3 separate regions of the Homo sapiens genome follow, and regions 2 and 3 are each linked to region 1. The links are contacts of gene promoters, found by promoter capture Hi-C in human tissues and cell types (Jung and others, 2019). All regions are on one chromosome and are shown on one strand. The core of a region is centred on a gene start or on the middle of the fragment in contact, and the rest is flanking DNA. Distances in the headings are between cores, read along the strand shown.

What was found. The method cuts DNA at HindIII sites, captures the fragments that hold promoters and counts their contacts. A contact is called where the count stands out against the background at its distance.
Region 2: a contact is called between the fragment with the promoter of PRSS27 here and the fragment with the promoter of CCNF in region 1, in 1 of the 25 tissues and cell types used here (pancreas).
Region 3: the fragment with the promoter of NTHL1 here is called in contact with the fragment with the promoter of CCNF in region 1 in 2 of the 25 tissues and cell types used here (lymphoblastoid cells and stomach).

Annotation. Positions count from the first base shown.
Region 1 is chr16:2,428,092-2,431,035 of GRCh38, reverse strand. It overlaps CCNF (cyclin F), which reads right to left and starts at 1,589. Exons shown (of 17, transcript NM_001761.3): 1 at 1,539-1,589. The coding sequence starts at 1,554. RefSeq lists silencers at 1,214-1,263, 1,274-2,123 and enhancers at 2,334-2,513, 1,949-2,528. The HindIII fragment of the contact is 14,340 bases long and covers 1-2,944 here.
Region 2 is chr16:2,718,918-2,721,709 of GRCh38, reverse strand. It overlaps PRSS27 (serine protease 27), which reads left to right and starts at 1,486. Exons shown (of 6, transcript NM_031948.5): 1 at 1,486-1,595. The coding sequence starts at 1,550. RefSeq lists silencers at 1-25, 156-915 and an enhancer at 649-1,216. The HindIII fragment of the contact is 19,281 bases long and covers 1-2,792 here.
Region 3 is chr16:2,046,498-2,049,197 of GRCh38, reverse strand. NTHL1 (nth like DNA glycosylase 1) reads left to right here and starts at 1,364. Exons shown (of 6, transcript NM_002528.7): 1 at 1,364-1,489. The coding sequence starts at 1,375. It overlaps TSC2 (TSC complex subunit 2), which reads right to left and starts at 1,213. Exons shown (of 42, transcript NM_000548.5): 1 at 1,133-1,213; 2 at 445-611. The coding sequence starts at 582. RefSeq lists a silencer at 950-1,179 and enhancers at 1,270-1,359, 1,810-1,869, 1,461-1,960. The HindIII fragment of the contact is 27,107 bases long and covers 1-2,700 here.

The DNA.
Region 1 (2,944 bases), core at 340-2,839:
AAGATGATCTAATGGTTACTATTCCCTGTGCCACAAAAGATGGAACTATGCTTCTTGTCCCAAACAAAGATTATGTAAAGGAGTGGCATTGCACAAATTACAGAAGAGATCATTCATTTTCAAATATTCAACAAATATTTATGGCAAATAGCGCATGTCATGTAACTTGGCTATTGGGAAACTTTCTGATCCAGAGCCCACATGACAGGCAGGAAGGGGAAAAAGCTGCCGAAGCTGAGGACGGTTTTCCTTCTATTTCACTCTCAGGAAAACTCCTGGGGCCTTTGCTGGATAGCTTTGCTTTTTGCACACGTGACCAAGGTGCATAATGTTCAATAAAGATCTGTGGGCTTGAAGAGTCTGGTTTTCAAGTCCAAATTAGAAGGGTCGGCCCTGGAGAGAAGCCACAGACTTGGAGGCCGGGGCAGTGTGCGTCCAAGTCTCAGCTCTGCAGAGTCTCAGTGTGCCCTCTATTGTAGAATGCGGAGTTGACAGCTACGCAGTAAGGTTGTTGCTCAGGTCCCAACACAAACCTAGACCTGTAGGTTTGTGTACAGATGCAATCATTAAAGGTGAGACGGGCATTCCACCCACCAGGCAGGCAGCCCGGACATGCTTCTCAGATGTGCTCTCTCCTCTTCCCACAGCCGGATTTTCCAACTCCTACTCCAGCAACCCCTTCCTCACTCTAAGCAGATGACCTTAGCCCTTATTTCACAGGGAAACAGAAGCCCTCAGACAGGAACCTCAGGATCCTGCCTCCCCATCTACAAATCTACCTTTCTATCCATCCTTCCTTCCAGTCCTGAAAGGAAGCGCCACTCCCCTCTGTGGGCCCAAATCCCTCCCCGCCTTGCTAGGACTTCCTAGCGATTGCTCCCGGCTCCCCTCTCTTGACCGGGGTCTTCCTGTTAGCAATTAAATCAGCTGCAAAAGCCAAACGTATTCCAGGGCGACGAATTCTCAAAGATTCTATAGACCTCTCCATAAAATATTCCTCATTCTCCGGCTCCAGGACAGATACTATGATAATAGCTGAAACCACAGTTCGTGTTTCCTGTGCCTCAACGCGCGCGGGGCCGAACGCTGCTTTCCACAGAGCTAGGTCCACGGCCCCGCTGGACTGAGGCTCGGTCAGGGCCCGGCCGGGCTGCGGGATCGCTTCGCCCCCACGCGCTCCGCAGCCCTTTCCCCGACCAGGAGGCGCTGGTGTTTGGCTCCCCGAGACCCGATCGCCGCCCCGGGACCCGATCGCCGGATCGCTGCCCCGGGACCCGATCGTTGCCCCAGGAAAGGGCCGGAAAACGTCGCCGCGGGGGAAGGCTCCGAGGGGCTCGGGCGCCCGCCGGGCATTTAAACCGCGCGCCCGGCCGCCGGGGCTCCCTGCGCGGGACGCGACATCCGCCCCGGGTTAAAGAGCTCGAGCCAGCCCTCTTCAGGCCGCCAGGGCCTCCCCTCCCGCGGGACCCACCGTCCGCCCCGCAGGGCAGGCAGAAGGGGTGTGGGGCAGAAACCAGCGGACATCGCCCCGCACTCACCGCCGCCGCTCCCCATCGCCGCGCTCGCGTCGCTGCCGCCGGAGCCCGCCTGAGAGCGCGCCCGCGCCCCGGCCGGAGCGCGCGTAGCCCTCGCGCAGGCGCAGACCCCGCCCCGCCGCCCACCCCAGTTTTCAAACGCACCCGGCCCTCCCATTGGCCTGCCCGGGGGGGCCGCCGCCGGCCCCGCCCATGTCCCGCCCTGTGCTCGCCTCATTTACCGCCCTCCACGCCCTCCCCGCCTGCTCCGGGACCCGCCATTGGCCGCGCCAGGACGCGAATTCGAACATTGGCCGCTGATTGGTGGAACCCGCGTGGCCGCCCCGCCTCCCCAACGGGGCTGGGGTCCCGTAGGAGCGCTTCCCGGCCGGCGGGCAGGGGTTTGTGGGCGTCCCCTCCCGGCCGCATGGGTTCGGGCTTCGCCGCTGACCCCGGCGACCGGCATCTGCGGTGCCAGATGGGCTGCGAAGGCGCACGCCTGCGGCCAGGGGAAAGAGGACTCCTTGGCGTCCCTCGCAGTCGCGGCCGTGATCCAGCCTGGGACAGCCTCGACGTGGCGCTTCTAAGACGAGGCCGTGCCCTGCCCGGGTCCCGGGGTCGCTCCTGGGCCCGCGACCCTCACCCCCAGCTTGCACGGCCTTCCCTTCCGCCGCCTGCTTCAGGTGGAGACCCTTGGGTTTGTGGCTGAGCCGCTGCTGGGCGGGGATGCTGGCCGGGATCGTGGTAGAGAAAGAGGAGGTCGGAGCTGACGCTGGGAAGTCTCCCCCGCGGAACGCTGACCCCTTCTTCCCGCGAAACGTGGCGCACCCTGGACGCCTCAGTGCTCCAGCCCCGGGGCAAGCCCTCCCCATCACTTTGGCCAGATGCTGCCCCCTGTCTGGCCTCCTCGGCTGCTACCTGGAGCTGCTCGCCGCGGGAAGTGTCGTATCTGCTCACTCTTGTCTTGGGCAGTGCCCATCTGAGCTGTCCTTCAGGAGTCAGCCACACCGCACCCCTTTTACGGCACAGGCTGTCAAGGGGAAGACTCGCAGCCTCCTGACTGTCTGGTGGAGGACAGAGGGGGCTTTTCCTGGGGAAGGCAGGGGCCTGGGCCAAGGCTGCCCACCCCTCCCTCACGCTTCCCTCAGTCTGCACCCTTCCATCCTTCCGGGTCCCCATAGAACTCCTTCAAGTACTGGGCCTGCCCTGGGCACACAGACAGGAGCCCTGGCGTGCAGGCTTCAGCCGGCCTGGGGCAAGAGACAGAGTAAACAGGTGATCACAGCACAGGGTACAGAAGAGTCCGTGGCCCCAGAGAGGGTCTGGAAGTTGGGAATATTCCCTGTCCCGGAATCAGGAAGCGGGTGAAGGAGGGTGAAGAGAGGACAGGCTGAGCGAGTTTGGGGCCTGCTCCCCAGATGTCCCATGTT
Region 2 (2,792 bases), core at 237-2,736, 290 kb before region 1:
TATTGGGCTCAAATCTGCTCAGAAATGACTGACTGACTGAATGAATAAATCAATACATGAATGAATACGTTTGGAGTCCCCTCTTCCCACTCCTCGCCCTCCCTCCTTCCCTCCAGACCCCCAGGGGCTGCCCAGCCCGCCTCCCACCCCCGACCCGGGAACTCCAGGGACTGGACGGGGAGGGAAGGGTGGGAGGAGGCGGTGGAGGCGGAGGCGGAGACGCGGGAGGGCGGGGCTAGGGAGGGCGATGCGGGGAGCCGGAGCCCGGACCATGAGGCTGGGAGCGCCCCTTCTGCACCCCTGGCCGCCCGCGCCGCGCCCCGCGCCCACCAGAGGGCAGCACCACGACGCGCGCGGACAAGGCTGAGGCGGGAACGGCCGCACCCCCAGCCCCGCCCGGAGCCGCCCGGCCCCGCCCCGCCCGCGAGTACCGACCCCCGGCGCCGGCGGGGAAACAGGTCCGGCGCCCCCGACCCCACGGCCCGGCCCCACTCTGTCTCTGACGTCAGCGCCGTGCCCCAAATAACTTCCTCCCCGAGCCTCTTCCGCCGCGGCGCCGCGCCCAGAGCCAGGCGGGGACACCGAAACGGTAACCCCGGCCCGGCCTTCCCGGAGCCGCTTCCGCCCCGCCTGGTGCCAGGAAGCCCCCGCCCCTTCCAAGGGATGGCAGCCGGGGCCCGGGTCGGCCGCCTGGGCCGCGCTGGCGCGCGCCTGAGGAACTTCTGGGGCCTGCTGTCCCGGGAGGAGGGTCGCTGCGGCCAACTCCGGACCCCGCCCCATGTCCCATCGCCTCCCCTGCCCTCGGCCCCGCAAACACCCCTGGCCTTGACTTTCCCACCAGCGCGGCCCAGCCCCACTGTGTTCCATCGGCGCTCAATAAAATACTGAATGAGGCCGGGCGCGGTGGCTCACCCCTGTAATCCCAGCGCTTTGGGAGGCCGAGGAGGGCGGATCACGAGGTCAGGAGATCGAGACTAGCCTGGCCAACACGGTTAAACCCCGTCTCTACTAAAAATACAAAAAATTAGCCGGGCGTGGTGGCACCTGCCTGTAATCCCAGCTACTCAGGAGGCTGAGGCAGGAGAATGGCTTGAACCTGGGAGACGGAGCTTGCAGTGAGCCGAGATTGCGCTCCAGCCTGGGCGACAGAGCGAGACTCTGTCTCAAAAAATTAAAAAAAATAATAATAATAATAATGAATGAAGCTGGACGGACTTCGCGTGCACCGCGGTCAGCTCGGGGTCTGCTGGGGGGTCTGGGTCAGCTCAGGGTCCAGGAACCGAGGCCAACGGCACCCCGTGCTGCGCTGGGGTGAGGGGTCTGCCCTGGGGTCTCGGGGTTCAGGGCTAGGTCACGGAGGAGTCGGCTCTGGGCGCTTCCTTCCTGAGGAGAGGAGCTGGGCAGGCCGGGCCGACGGGTTGGGCCGCATAGCCGGGCCTGTGCTCATCTCCAGCATAAAACTCCACTTCATGGAGCCTGCACCTCGCTCGTGCTCCAACGCTTCTGCCACCGCCGACCACGGCCCTGCGCCCCAGCCAGGCCTGAGGACATGAGGCGGCCGGCGGCGGTGCCGCTCCTGCTGCTGCTGTGTTTTGGTGAGTCGTGAAGGTGCAGGGTCCTGGTGGTGCAGTCCCCCACCAGGCTCCGCTGCACTGCCTGGGGCTCCGGCTCAGCCCCCTACTCCCTGGGACAGGCTGGGGCTGTGGGACAGGCCATCATCCCTCCTGCCCCTGAGCAGGTGGGAAGGCTCCAGATGTGCCAAGTGGGGAGTCCAAAGTGGGGAGGCAGGGTGGGAGGTGTGCGCACAGGCCCCAGAGGACCCCACCGGCATAACTGGGCAGCACCTCCTCCCATGCCTCTCCGCGGGCACTGGTGTGCCAGCTCTGGCCAGGCTCCCTGCTTCCTGCCACCTCGGCCTCTCCCCCCATTCTCTAGGTGAGGACAGGGGCCTCCTACGTGCAGGATGTGAACTCAGGCTCCAAGTGCCTGGACCATCATACTCGGGGTGGGAGGGTGGCCGAGCCGAGGGCTGCTGCCTGTGCCCGGAAGCCCCAGCAGGCTGGCTGCAGGCTCAGTAGAGAGCTGGGGGCAGGGGGTGTAGGTGGCAGAGGGCCCTGTCTCCTGCTGACAGAGGAACCGGTGATGCGCCACCGTGCCCTCTCCCAGTCCTGGGTCAGGGACAGCAGGTGCCAGCCAGGGGGCCCCACCTGCCAGGCCCCTCCCTGCGGGCCGGGACACTCTCTGTCAGGGAAAACCTCTCACATTCCTGGGCTAGCCTAGCCAGTCTGGCAGCCACCACACTTCCCTGTCCTCAAGTCACCTCCCAGGGCTGGGTCAGGTCATCCCAGGCTGCAGCTTAGCCAGTACTCCAGGCTTCCTTGTTCTCCTGGGTGGGAGGGCACCAGTGGCCCCTCAGTGGCCCGGCCTCCCCCACCCCATGCCCCCAGTCTCCCAGCACAAGGATGGTGCCCTCTGAGCAAGCCATGTGCACAGGAGGTGGAAGGCTGTGACTGCCCCTGAGCGGGGTGAGGAACCAAGGTCATTGCCAAAACTCTTTGGCAATGAGTTTTGCAGTCGGTTCACTAACAGCTGTGACCAGAGGCTGGACTCCTGGACACGTCCTCACTCCCAGCCCGAGGGTGGCACTCCCACCAGGTCTCTGGCTGGTGGTACCCACTAAGCTTCACCATCCCCACCAGCTACCAGCGAATCACAGGCCCAGGCCCCAAACAATGCTCCTGACACCCCCGGCACCCCTGGCTGTTGCTTCCAGCCCCCACAGGGCGCCCACC
Region 3 (2,700 bases), core at 115-2,614, 380 kb after region 1:
AGGAGAACCACTTGAAACTGGGAGGCAGAGGTAGCAGCGAGCAGAGATTGTGCCACTGCACTCCAGCCTAGGCAACAGAGCAAGACTCAGTCTCAAAAAAAAAATAAAATAAAGAACCTACTTCTCCCAGGAACTCACATCTTATCATGTAACACCTGGACATATCCTTACCTGTGAAGATGATGATACTCAGGCCTCATCTATAAGATGGGCTTTCTTTCATCAACATCTGAATAGTAACTCAAGTGTGCCTGAACCAGGTCACCAAGATCCTGACTTTCGAAGTCTCCTGAGGAAGGACATGTCGGCCTCCAAGTACTGGAGACAGCATTCCTGTGTAGACAGTTGCCAGCAACCCGTCTCCCACAGAACCTGGTGCAAGACCAAACCCAGCCTTCTCTGCATTTCCCTCTAGCCTAGCAAAGACACAGGTAGCTCACTCACTCTCAGTATTTCCGCGGTGATGATAAACTCCGTCTGTTTACCCTCTGCAGACCTGGGATTTGGCCTCGGTGTTCCCAGTCCCAACAGAATCTTAAACTTCTCCTTCAAGCCTGAATCTTTGCTTGTTGGTTTGGCCATGGTGGACCAGGACGCACCAGAAAACCCCTCTGTGCAAACGAAACAGGAATGGGGACATCTGAGCAACACCTCTGCCCACCTTCCCCACTGCGGACCTCCAGCCGTCAGGACCCTGGGTCTCTGGTGGGCATAACCTTTCCTCCCACACTCCCTGGGAGAACTCAACTACAGCCCAGCTGACCAGCTCGCAAACAGGCACCTAGGAAAGCCCGGGAGACACCAGGCCTGGTCTAGAGAGCTCTCTACTCAGACGCTGCCGCCCGCCCCGCCCGACTCAGTGCACGGGTTAGGACTGCCGCCGCGAAGTCCTGGGAGCCCCGACGTTTGCCGTCTCTCCTCTACCCATGTGAAGCAGGAGCTGTCACGGAGCCGCCTGCAGCAGAGACCCGTTCGCACCCGCCATGACTTAAAACTAAGGGATGCTCGGAGCTCCGGAGTCGGGTTGCAGTGGGCGCGGGTGAGGGCCCGGGACCCGGACACTGCGGGGTCCGCCTCTCTAGGCCGCTGCCCCGTGGGGACCGCCACTTGCCCCGTGGGGACCGCCACTTACCCCGCGCCGCGCCACCGCGCTCCGGGCCGCCCCGACGCGGAGAAAGGCGCACCCCCCTGGCCCCGGGACGCCGCCGGAAGCGCGACCCGCACTTCCGGTAGCGGCATTGCGCGGAGGGCCGCCTTGGGAGCTTGCTGGGAGTTGTAGTTCTGTGCCGCCCTCTGGCGGAAAGGCCGGCGATCCTTGCATCACGTGACGGGGCCGCATGGGCCGCCGGGATGTGTAGTCCGCAGGAGTCCGGCATGACCGCCTTGAGCGCGAGGATGCTGACCCGGAGCCGGAGCCTGGGACCCGGGGCTGGGCCGCGGGGGTGTAGGGAGGAGCCCGGGCCTCTCCGGAGAAGAGAGGCTGCAGCAGGTAGCGCCGCGCCGTGGCTGGAGCGTGGGAGGAGGCGGGATAGGGGCTGCAGGCTGGAGTCCCGGGCCGCCTCCTGCGGCTCCCAGCTGCGCGGGCAGGGGCTGCAAACCCGGCAGCCGCGAACGGTTCCCACGTGCGGCCCTGCGTTCCCACCTTGCGCCTTTTTCCCAAAGATTGCGGTCCGCAGGGGCTGGGTTTCGGGCGCTCCGCTCCGCTGCCCCCTTTCGCCCCAAGCAAGAAAACGCTTCCTTTCCCACCACTCTGTCCGGGACTCTCCACTCCAGGCTCTGTGGGTCCCATCCCCGCCCTCCTGCAGTGAACTTGCTGTCCTCGGAGAGGCTGGGTGCCAAGGACACACGCAGCCAGAAGCCTGCTCCCCCAGCTCGGGGGAGGGTGCCTCTGAGGGAAAACAGGAAAGGGCATGGCACTTATTATATTTATCCTGCAGCCGTTGAGGACCTGCTGGGGGCCAAGCACTGCAGTGAGCAGTGAGGGACACGGACAGGGCCTCTGCGCTAGTCCCGCTGGGACTTCTGCAGAATTGGCCAGAGCTGGATTCCCATAGGCACCCAGGGACCCCAGGGGTAGTCCAGACTATGTCAGGAGGAACTGGTGCAGCTGGGAGCAGGCAGGTGGTGATGCCAGCCAGGGTGGCAGGAGCTTTGATGCCAGGATAGAGTTTGGAGTTTATTATGACAGTAAACGGAAGTCAATTAGGAGGTTTTGTTGTTTGTTTTGAGATCGGGTCTTGCTCTGTCACCCAGGCTGTAGTGGAGTGTTGTGATCTCAGCTCACTGCAACCTCCGCCCCCCAGGTTCAAGCAGTTCTCCTGCCTCAGCCTCCCAAGTAGCTGAGACTATAGGCCCCTGCCACCACACCCGGCTAACTTTTGTATTTTTAGTAGAGATGGGGTTTTGCCATATTGGCCAGGCTGGTCTTGAACTCCTGACCTCAAGTGATCCACCCACCTCGGCCTCCCAAAGTGCTGGGATTACAGGCTTGATCCACCGCGCCCGGCCGGCCAGGATTTTTTAAAAGGGAGTGACACAACCTGATGTGGGTGTTAGCAGACTGTCTCTGGTGCAGTATAGAAGATGTATTGGGGGCACCTTGGTACAGGCTGTTGCTAGAGTCCTCATGAGCTAACATGGACCTTGTCAGGGTCGCTGGCATAAGGAGGGCCCACATACCCCAGACTGCAGAGGGCAGAG